Regions from separate parts of the Homo sapiens genome. Here all the other regions are linked to region 2. Evidence: promoter capture Hi-C in human tissues and cell types (Jung and others, 2019). All regions are on one chromosome and are shown on one strand. The core of a region is centred on a gene start or on the middle of the fragment in contact, and the rest is flanking DNA. Distances in the headings are between cores, read along the strand shown.

The links. The method cuts DNA at HindIII sites, captures the fragments that hold promoters and counts their contacts. A contact is called where the count stands out against the background at its distance.
Region 1: a fragment that was not itself captured here is called in contact with the fragment with the promoter of C15orf61 in region 2 in 1 of the 25 tissues and cell types used here (lymphoblastoid cells).
Region 3: a fragment that was not itself captured here is called in contact with the fragment with the promoter of C15orf61 in region 2 in 1 of the 25 tissues and cell types used here (mesenchymal stem cells).

The regions. Positions count from the first base shown.
Region 1 is chr15:68,182,997-68,186,795 of GRCh38, reverse strand. PIAS1 (protein inhibitor of activated STAT 1) reads right to left here. Exons shown (of 14, transcript NM_016166.3): 13 at 3,129-3,166. It overlaps LOC105370871 (a long non-coding RNA gene), which reads left to right. Exons shown (of 2, transcript XR_932396.3): 1 at 1-3,528; 2 at 3,645-3,799. Among named protein-coding and RNA genes, the nearest start is that of CALML4, 20 kb to the left of the region's middle. The HindIII fragment of the contact is 6,521 bases long and covers 1-3,799 here.
Region 2 is chr15:67,519,543-67,523,477 of GRCh38, reverse strand. It overlaps C15orf61 (chromosome 15 open reading frame 61), which reads right to left and starts at 2,347. Exons shown (of 2, transcript NM_001143936.2): 1 at 1,884-2,347. The coding sequence starts at 2,229. It overlaps IQCH-AS1 (IQCH antisense RNA 1), which reads left to right and starts at 1,634. Exons shown (of 6, transcript NR_040052.1): 1 at 1,634-1,959. RefSeq lists enhancers at 1,921-2,040, 2,681-2,760 and a silencer at 2,151-2,500. The HindIII fragment of the contact is 11,118 bases long and covers 1-3,935 here.
Region 3 is chr15:68,129,135-68,132,924 of GRCh38, reverse strand. All of the region lies in intron 2 of PIAS1 (protein inhibitor of activated STAT 1), which reads right to left. Among named protein-coding and RNA genes, the nearest start is that of CALML4, 74 kb to the left of the region's middle. The HindIII fragment of the contact is 5,073 bases long and covers 1-3,790 here.

The DNA of each region.
Region 1 (3,799 bases), core at 432-2,931, 660 kb before region 2:
TGCTGAATGCCGTAGGCAACTGTAACACAATGCTAAGTATGTGTATATCTCAACATAGAAAAGGTACAGTAAAAATATGGTATAAAAGATAAAAAAATGATACACCTGTATAGGGCACTTACCATGAATGGAGCCTGCAGTACTGGAAGTTGCTCTGGGTGAGCCAGTGAGTGAATGGTGAGTGAATGTGAGGCTTAGGACATTATTGTACACTACTGTAGACTTTATAAACACTGTACACTATGGCCACACTAAATGTGTTAAAAATATTTTTCTTTCTTCAATAATAAATTAACATTAGCTAACTAATTTTACTTTATAAACTGATTTTTTAAAACTTTGACTCTTGTAACACTTAATTTAAAACACAAGTACATTGTACAGCTGAACAAAAATATTTCCTTCTTTATATCCTTATTCTGTAAGTCTCTATTTTTAACATTTTAAAATATTTTTTACTTTTTAACTTTTTTGTTAAAAATGACACACACAACACATTAGCCTAGGCCTACACAGGGAGGTCAGGGTCATCGATGTCACTGTCTTCCATCTGCACAGCTTGTCCCACTGCATGGTCTTCAGGGAAAATAGCATGCATGGAGCTGTCATTTGCTATGACAACAATCTTCTGGAACACCCACTGAAGGACCTGCCTGAGGCTCTTCTTAAGGAGGTGTCACTCTTTTCAGAAATATGTCCATGGTGTTTGGCTTGGTTTCTTTTTTATCATAGGTTTGCTTGTAAGTAGATAATGTACCATAAACATTCCTCTCTATTAATGAAAACCTTTCATTGTTAGGGCCCATGTTTTTTTTGTTTGTTTTGTTTTTGAGATGGAGTCTCGCTCTGCCACCCAGGTTGGAGTAGAGTGGTGCACGCAATCTCGGCTCACTGCAACCTCCGCCTCCCAGGTTCAAGTGATTCTTCTGCCTCAGCCTCCCGAGTAGCTGGGATTACAGGCGTGTAGCACCACGCCCAGCTAATTTTTGTATTTTTAGTAGAGACGGGGTTTCACCATGTTGGTCAGGCTGGTCTCGAACTCCTGACCTCATGATCTACCCGCTTTGGCCTCCCAAAGTGCTGGGATTATAGGTGTAAGCCACAGCGCCCAGCCAGGGCCCATGTTTTTAAATTTTTTAAGGAGCTTGTTGAGGTCTGCAAAAGCTTCTGCTAAACCTTTCACTGTGAATTTTCTTGGAGGTTCTTCCTTTTTGTCTCCTGCAGTTTCCTTTTCTCTTGCACCTTCTTCAGCTGCGTGTTCCTGTTCCAGTTCCAACAGCTCATTAGTCAATTCCTCAGGAACCACATCTAGGAGCTTCTCAATGTCATCCTCATCTACATCTAGGTTAAAGTTGTTTGCCATGTCAACCACAGCCTTGTCCATTTCTGCAACCTCTTCATCCTTAGCAGATTCTTTGAAGTCATGAACAAACTTCTTCAGTGTCTTCTAGATGTCATTCACATACTCCTTGGTGACATCAGTCCATGCCCAAGCAAGGTTCTTGATGCAGTCATAGCTGTTGTAAACCTTCCAGAATTGCATCAGTGTCCTCTCGGTGTTTTTCAGTTGCAGCAATAGCCTGGGCAAAGATCCTCCTTAGGATCTTTTAATAGGCCTTAAAAACTGCTACAACTCCTTGATTCATTGGTTGGATCAAAGAGGTGGTATATGGAAGGAGACACAACACTTTGATATTGGGATGAAGATCACCAATGAAATGAGGATGTGTGGGAGCATTATCAACAAAAATCATCATCTTGAAAAGTATGTTACTCTCTCAACAGTACTTCTCCATTTTGCTGGCACAGCAATTCGGGAGGACATCCTGGAAGAAAAGCTGGGTCATCGATGACTTCTTATTGCTCCTGTAGTACACGGGCAGTGTGTGCTTGCTGACATGCTTGAAGGCTCTGGAGTTCTCACTGTGCCAGATCACAAAGGGTTTCAATTTGTAGCCTGCAATATGGCCCCAAGCAAGACTGTTATCTTGTCCTTAAAAGCCTTGAAATCTAGCATTGACTTGGCTTCTTTATGGATGAAAGTCCTTTCAGCCATTTATTTCCAGAATAGGGAGGTTTCATGCGTATTGAAAATTTGTCTGGCAAGTAATCTTCCTTCATAATCAGCTTATCTAGAGTTTCCAAAAATTCTTCAGTTGCCTTCACATCTGCATTTGCAGACTCTCCACTCACTTTGATATTACATAATGAATAATGATTCTTCAATCGTTTAAACCACCCGGAGCTAGCAGTACATTTAACACTGTAGTTGGGTCCAGTCTTTTCTTTAAGCATTGCAAACAAACTTTTTGCTTTGGCCATGATCATTATGGTGCTGAGAGGGATATGTTTCTGTGTCTGGTCTTCAATCCAGGTCACTAACAAGTTTCTCCATATCTGATACAGGCCCTTCTCAAATTTTTGTTAGTCTTGTTGCCTTGAACAAAGCAGATCCTTTAACAGCTTCTATCACTTTGTTCTTGTTCTTTAAGACTGTAGCTATGGTAGAATGGGACTGCCTGACTGGTGAGCAATAACTATCACTGATCTTCCACTTTCATCGTCCTTAATCACTTAATTTTTTTCCATGTCAGTCACTCGATGTGGCCTCTTACTGGCAACATTAGCTGTGGATTTTGTATGCTTAGGGGCCATGATGAACAAAACAAGACAAGATTTTCATCAAGCACAAGAGGAAATGATGCAATCAAGAGATGTGGCAAACTGGGATGTATGAGGCTGTCCTGGAATAACATGGCACACTGTTTTACAGCAAACTTAAAAAAAAAAAAAGTAGAGGTACACTCTAAAATAACAATAAAAAATATAGTAAATGCATAAACCAGTAACAGAGTTGTTTATTATCGTTATATTGTACATAATTATACGTGTGATACTTTTACATGACTGACAGCATAGGTTTGTTCACACCAGCAACACCACAAACATGTGAGTAATGCCTTGTGCTACAATGTTACCATGGCTATAATTGATGTAGGGATTTTTCAGCTCCATTATAATCTTATGGAATGCATATATGGCCTGTCATTGACCAAAATGTCATTATGTGGCGCATGACTGTATTTTTAATGTACAATTAAAATAATAGTAAATTTTTCATAACATACCTGATTGTCTCCTGATAAGAAAGGAAAGAAATCTAATCCTGTGGAAGAAAAAATTATTTCAGTTTAAAAAAAAAAGAAGGAAAAACTCTTCCAAATGCCCCAATACTTCAAAAACAAATACAAGTCTTATATGCTATGTCACTCAGAATTTTATTTAAACATGAAGAGTTGAGCTAAACGTTTTACGTCTCTCCTTTCTTTAGATTACTAAGGCTGAAAACTAAGCTTTGGCAATGATTTGTCTTCTCCGTGACCCCATTTGGGGGACTGGGGCCATTACTACTCTGTCAGATCTAACACTGATCCTTAAACGGGCATAGTACTTTTAACAAATGCTCTGGACTCCTCTTAAGGAAACTTTCAATCTGCTCTAAGTTACTCCTCACAAGCACTTCATGAGGTATGTAATTAGTTTTGCCCTCATTTTGCAGGTGAGAAAGTTTGAAGTTGAAAGAGTTAGGTTAAGTAAGTTGTAGTACTGATTTTTCTTTCTTAAATTTGCTCATTTGCTATCAGATTCAACTGACAGACTGCAGTGGCATGAGGGGAGAAGAGGTTTGAGTGCCTGCAAACTGGCTACTATTACATAAGAAGGAGTAGTTCTGCTACCTGGCTGCTGAGGATTCACTGCAAGGAGGCCCCTTCCAATTAACATTCTTTTCTAGATCACC
Region 2 (3,935 bases), core at 1,098-3,597:
ATTGAAGGGAAGACGGAGGAGAAAAGGAGCAAATGGGTAAACAGAAATCTTTATTATTTACAAAATGGAAAAATGAATTTGGAAGGGAAGAAGAGGAACAAAATCCTAAGTATAATATTAATAGGATATGTACTTTATCACCCAGAGAGACGATTGTACCTCACAGAATAGGAAAGGACCTATTATCTAATTCACATCCCCTCTACCTTCAGACAAAAATTAAAAATAAACGTTACCAGATGTGTTCACCACTTTAAAATATTTTTTAATTCCCTTTATCAGTATATCCCAATTTGTATTAAAGCATGCATGAGCAAAAAGTTGTCCTTTTTGCTTAACTTAGAACTCTTACTCCCATTTTAGCAGGATTTTTAGAATGTCCAAAAGACCATACAGACCATTAAATCACTCTCCCACATTAATAAACAAAACAAAACAAAAAACACTACAACTGTTGTTTCTTTCAACTTTAAAAGGTTTTACTTTTCTATGTGTGGAATGTTCTGAGTATCCACTTTTTTTGGATGTCTTAATCTCTAAATCTAAAAGAGAGGCCCCTAATCATTAAGGTGCTCTTAAACAAAATGTCAACACTAAAAATGTGACTTTAAAGGAAAAAAAGGCATTTGGCTCATGGTTTACCTATAACTCTCCCGTTATGCTTTTCCTAACCTATTATTCTTTAGGGAAGAATGATTTCTTACTTATGAAAAATGCTAAAATAAACTTATACTTCTCGAATCTAGTTAACACTCCAGTCTTTCCAAATAATTTCGAATTGAATTTCCTAAGTCACCTCACCCTTCAACTTCAACCAACCTCCAAAGTAGTGGGCATGCTCTATACAGTCCATCAGCCAAATAATAAGAGGCATTTTTAAAGGATAACACGTTGCTAAACAATTATCTCCTTACAGGACAGTCCAGTGGAGTAACGGCTCAAAAAGCCCACGACTGACATATGTGTTATTATAAGCACAAATACACAGACTATTTTTAACCTTAATGGACGATCAGATTATGTAATAGTATTAGTAGTACGGCTGCGCAGGGTTTAGTTTTAATCCTGGCTTTAAAAACCTGGCTGGGTAACATGGTTCATTCAGCTCCATGGCTAGATTTTGAATCACTGAAATCTAGATTGATTTTATGCCAGCTATTAGTAAGTTCAAAACATCTTGAGGCCTTCTGTTTTCCCCTGACCTATAAAAGATACACCCATGTCCATGTTCGTACCTCCCTCTTCTGTCATTAAACCAAAAGAAAATAAACACCTAGTGACAGTAAACATCCTCAGGGCGTCTCCATGAAAATATACAAATATTAAAGATCTTTAAAAATCTTTTAGGCCTAGCACCTCAGGAAGCTGTTATGTCTGGTGAAAACCTTTGGTGCTTTTAGTAAAACGAACTTGCCGGGAATTCATACAAAGAAAACAAAAGAAACTTAAAAGAGTAGTTCCAGTTATTGCAACATAAACGCAGCTGCAAAGTGATGTTCACGGGAATGAGTCCTGCCATGCAGTAGGACGGATGTCAACTTCAGAGCCACTTTCTAGGGGGCGTTTCCTGACGCCCCCTGGCTTACTGCCCAGGCCAGGGGTCTACTCTGGTTAACATGGGCAGGACAGGAGGGCGACCCGCCCCTCCCTAGGCCCGAGGACGCGCCCGCAGCAGGCGAACGGCTTCGGGTGCCAGGAGCTCAGCAAGCTGGGGACCCCCTGGGCGAGGAGTACAAAGGACCCCAGGCGAAGCCGGCGCCGGGAGGCAGAGCTGACTCCCGCGGGACTCTACCGGCCTGCGAGCGTTCGTCACGTGCTCGGTGGCTGAGGGGCCGTCCCGGCCGGGCGGGCTTCACCGCGTGGGCGCGGCAGTCGCCACTCACCGAGGTTGACGACCTTGAGCGCCGTGAAGAAGCGGTTCTGCCGGGCCAGGTCCTGCCAGGGAGCCTTGGAGCAGTGGTACTTGATGAAGGGGAAGCAGCCGGTGCGCAGGACGTGGTAGTTGGCGCCCTGCACCGGCCAGTTGAAGTGCGAGAGGCCGAACTGGTCGTTGCGGACGGCGCTGTAGGGCACGCAGAAGGAGGTCCAGTGCGGCAGGCGCCGCTGCAGCAGATGCCGCGTCAGCACCTCCGAGGCGCTGGGCTTGGGGCGGGCGGCGGCGCGCGAGGCCCACGGCCTACACAGCAGCAGGCGGAGCGCGACCTCGTGGGCCCTCCTCAGGGCCTCCATGGCCCGCCGCGCCGGGGACGCAGGCTGGTGTCCGCAGCCGCTGGCGCGCAAGCGCGCCCCCGGGCGAGCGCCGGGAAGGCCAACCGGCGCCGCGCGGGTGCCCGAGAGCCCCCGGTGTGCGGCGGCGCGTGCGCACAGCGGCCCCGTGGCCTCCCGCTGGGGGTGGAGTCCGGGGGATGGGAAGCGTGAGCTGCGCGAGGCGGAGGGTCACCTGCGTCAAGGAGCTGGTTTTGAGTGGCCAGGTGTGACCTCACGCCGTCATTAGTAACTCGGGCAGGGGAGGGATTCGGGGAGGTCTCATCAATTTGGGCCTGAGGAAAATTCAGGTGGAAGACAATTAAATAACTAACCACCTCCGCAAGGTGCAGAACTCAAACCCAAGTCTCCCTCCCACGCCCTGGGCTCCAGGGAAGCCCTTGGGTGTTGTTGTTGAAACAGGACGAGGCGTGACCCCGGGTCTGCGTTGTTTGGTAAGGCCGGGAGCACTTTTGTGTGTAGGTCCTCGCTGTCGGGTTCACTGTTTAAAATTAGTCCCAGAGATTTCAAAATCAAAAGTTTATTTAAAAACCTCACGTGTCTCAGTGCAGCGTCCGAACACACAAAGGCACCTCCCTCTAAGAACCTGGTAGACGGACCAGGAGCCTCTTATCGAGCTTTGTGGACCTCAGTCACCCATTACCAATCCATTACTTTCGGAAAAGCTTTGCTCAAACTTTGCGGCCTCTTGAGGCAGTAACTTACGGACAAAACTGCTTTTAGAAAAGGATTTCCTCTTTTGTCCTAAACTCATTTTGTTTGGAGAGGCCATACATAAACAAGATGATGTGTCTGAAACCACCTTATGTAAATGAGGTACAGTAATTACGCGTTAAGCATCATATAACAATTACTATCGTTGCTAAAAACTCAAGGGGGATGTAGGATAGTATGGCGAAATTTTATATTCCCCAGTTTTTTGTTTTGTTTTGTTTTGTTTTTTTGAGACGGAGTCTCACTCTGTTGCCCAGGCTGGAGTGCAGTGGTGCAATCTCAGCTCACTGCAACCTCTGCCTCCCAGGTTCAAGTGATTTTCCTGCCTCAGCCTCCCGAGTGGCTGGGATTACAGGCGTGCACCACCACGCCTGGCTAATTTTTGTATTTTTAATAGAGACGGGGTTTCACCATGTTGGCCAGGCTGGTCTCAAACTCATGACCTCGTGATCCACCTGCCTCGGCCTCCCAAAGTGCTGGGATTACAGGCGTGAGCCACTGCACCAGGCCTATTCCCCAGTTTTTATTGAACATTGAGCACCCACCAACATATGCCGAATCTTGAACTTTACCTTACAGAATTTGAAGTTGAACTTTACCTTATAGAACTTGAACTTTATAGAATTTCTTTTTCTTTTCTTTTTTTTAGAAAGGATCTCACTGTTGTCTAGGCTGGAGTGCAGCTGCTCGATCTCGGCTCACTGCAACTTCTGCCTCCTGGGCTCAAGAGATCCTCCCACCCTCAGCCTCCCAAGTAGCTGGGACTGCAGGTGTGTGCCACCTACACTCGGCTGCTTTTTTTGGTATTTTTTGTAGAGGTGGAATTTTGCCATGTTGCCCAGGCTGGTCTTGAACACTTGGGCTCAAGTGATCCGCCCGCCTCGGCCTCCCAAAGTGGTGGGATTACAGGTGTGAGCTTCTGCACCTGACCAAATTAAATTTTGAAAAAGAGTGGA
Region 3 (3,790 bases), core at 383-2,882, 610 kb before region 2:
AGACAGAGAATGGGATAAGAAATAGGAAGAATTTTAATAGTTTTCTAGTTAATTTTTACGTTTAAATCAAATTCAAAAGATAAAACTGAGCAAAAATGAGTATTTCTAACTTTTTAATATTTATATTTTGCGTGGACTCTCACTTTGGTTGTTATTCAAAGTGGTTATTACATAATTTCGGTTTTTGTTCTTCTAAGCTCTATTTTGCCACTCAAATTGAACTTAACCCTAGTTTTATAGCCAATTCCTTAGGATTTGCAGATAAACCTTCCCTTAACCATAAGTAAGGAAAAATTTAATTTTCCTTTCTAACATTTATACCTCTAGTTCTAATTCATGTCTTATTGTATAGGCCAGAACTTTTACAAGAATATTTGTAGATCTTCCAGGGTGACTTCTTTGCTGTAAAATTTGATGTACCTTTAACATTGTAGTTTCCTTTTTTTTTTAGAGACAGAGTCTCACTCTGTCACCCAGGCTGGAGTGCAGTGGTGCCATCTCGGCTCACTGCAACCTCCACCTCCCAGGTTCAAGTGATTCTCCTGCCTCAGCCTCCCGAGTAGCTGAGACTACAGGTGAGGGCCACCACGCCCTGATTTTTTGTATTTTTAGTAGAGACGGAGTATCACCGTGTTAGCAAGGATGATCTCAATCTCCTGACCTCGTGATCCGCCCGCCTCAGCCTCCCAAAGTGCTGGGATTACAGGTGTGAGCCACCATGCCCGGCCAACACTGTAGTTTTTAACAATCACCCACAAAGCTGCTTCAAAACATACATGTCTGGGAGTTTAGCCCCCACTGGGAATAATTCTGATGCACCTCCATTATTAGTAACTACCTCTAGGGTTCTTCTTTCTTTTTTTCTTTTCTTTTCTTTTTTTTTTTTTTTAGAGGAGGTTTTGCCACATTGCCCAGGCTGGTCTCAAACTCCTGAACTCAGACAATCCACTTGCCTTGGCTTCCCAAAGTGCTGGGATTACAGGTATGAGCCACCACGCCCAGCCTAGGATTTTTTTTTTAAACTAATAAATAAATACCCAGCAATCCCACTTCTAGGTATTTACCCAAAAGATTCGAAAACAGTATGTCAAAGAGATGTCTACACTCCCATGTTCATTGCAGCACTATTCAAAATACCAAGTACGGAATCAACCTAAGTGTTCATCAACAGATGAATGGATAAAGAAAATGTGGTCCTAAATAAGTATACATAATGGAAAAGCATTCAGCCTTAAAACAGAGAGAGATTCTGTCATTTGTGACAAACATGAATGGAATTAGACAATACTATGCTTATTAAGTGAAATTAGCCAAATACAGAAAGACAAATACTGCATGCTCTCACTTATATGTGGAATCTAAAACAATCAAACTCATAGAAACAAAGAGTAGAATGGTGGTTACCAGATATGGTTAGAAGATAGGAGAAATAAGTTTTTTTTTTAATAAGATCTTATTGCACAACACAGTGAACATAGCTAGTAACATTTTAAAATTGCTAAGAGTAAATTTCAAATGTTCTCATCACCTAAAAAATGTAAAATAGTTGTGGAAATTGATTAACATATCAGCTTGATACATTAGTTGATTTAAGCATTTCACATGGTAGTCGAAGATCGTAACATCACTCTGTGCCCCATAAATATATACATCTATAATTTTTCAATAAATAAATATAAAGCTGTCTGTTGACTATAAAGATTCCCTATAATGTTAAAGAACACTTTTTCTACTTCTTTTTAAAAAAATTATTAATGGGCATTTAATTTTATGAAACCTTTTAAAGTTTCTATTTAAACTCCAAATAAGCTAATGGATTCTTGGAGTCAGAAGTCCGCGTGCTTACCCCAGTTCTGTCATTCAGTAATTGTGTGACCTTGGGCACACTGTCTGACATTTCCATGCTTCAATTTCTTCATCTAGGTAATATAACCCTAGAGAAACCTTAGAATTATTTTGATAACTAAATAAAAATATAAAACCGCTTATAACAGTGCCTACCTAACCCAAAGTAAGCAGTCAATAAATGTTAGCTATTATTACATCTGATGAATTAATATATTTCTTAATACTGAACTATTTATGACTTCTGGATAGAGGATATATATCTCTATCAAGGTTTTAGTCCAGTAGACTTAGCCTAATTTAAATCTTATTATTCCTCCAATATTCTGATAAATTCTACCAGTTAATATTTTAAGGAACACAACTATATTCAAAAAGTGAAACTGAATGATAGCTTTTTTTTTTTTTTTTTAAGTGTTACCTTTGTTTCTTTGTATTCCTCTTTGGCCTGCTTACTTTTTAATAACTGAGAACATTTTGTAGTATACAGAAATTGTTTATTCCTCAAAAAAAGTTCTGAAGAATTTACCAGCAAATGTATCAAACCCAGAGTTTTTCTTTTTTTAAAAAGTAGTTCTTTGATAATATTGTCAAGTTATCAGTATATCACATTTTATACATTATTTTCACTGCATATACATGTAGAAAAAAACATTTGGAATGTTTAATATATCTGGAAACTTCATAGAGGTTTCTGAAATTTATTAACATATAACTGTGTAAATGTATTGCTCCTAATATTTATATACATATATTTCTTCTATGTGATTTAAATCTACTTTCTATGGTTGATTTTGTTTAATCAGATCTGCAAGAAGCTTATATATTTTGCCTCTTTCATAAGCCTTTTTCTTTTAAGGTTTATTTATTAATTCCACCTTTTTTCCTATTTTTAAAAAATCTTTATTTTTAATTTTTGTGGGTATACAGGTGTATATATTTATGGGGTATATGAAATATTTTGATACAGGCATGCAATGCGTAATAAACTATTTTTTCTAGTTTCGTATGGTGAAATATTGCTTCCCCCCCTCAAAATGAACATATCTTTTTTATTTCCAATTATAGAAAATATGCAATACTCACTGTAAAAAACAAAAATTAAAACCACAAGAGATTACAAAATAAAAGTCTACCCCATAATCTAGCTGCTTCCCTACAGGATGAAGAAAACCCCTGAACATTATGAAAAATTTGGTATACAACTATAGGGACTTATAAGCACACATAAATCTATGTAAGAGTGTGTGTGTGTGTGTGTGTGTGTGTGTGTGTGTGTGTGTGTAAATACAATTATTTTGCAATCTGCTTTTTCATTAAGATTTTAAGTTTTGAGGACATGTTTTCATTTCAACATATACATAAATTATCTAATCCACTTCAATGTCTGCAAAGTATCCACTATATAAACACAATTTAAAAATAATTTTTACCTTTATCTTTAATATACTACTTCTATTTTTCTTAAATTTTATACTAAATTCTTGGTTCTTCATCTTTTTAAATCATAAAAGCATGCAGTGTTTTCTTTTGGCTTTTCATTAATGCCTTATTTTCATAATTTATTTTTTTAATGTCATTTTAAAAATCTTTGTTTTAGTATACTCACAACAACAACTTTTATAGTTTCTGCTGTTTTGAATTAGCTATTATGTTTACGGTCAAGTATATATATAGCTTTATAAATATTGCAGACACTTGAAAAGTAACTGGGCCAGGTGCAGTGGCTCAGGTCTGTCAACCCAGTGCTTTGGGTGGCTGAGGCAGAAGGATCACTTGAGGCCAGGAATTTGAGAGCAGCCTGGGCAATATAGTGAGACCCTGTCTCTACAAAAAATAACTTTAAAATATCAGCCAGGTGTGGTGGTATGTGCCTACAGTCCTAGTTACTCAGGAGGGTGAGGTGGGAAGGGCTGCTTGAGCCCTGTAGTTCGAGGTTACAGTG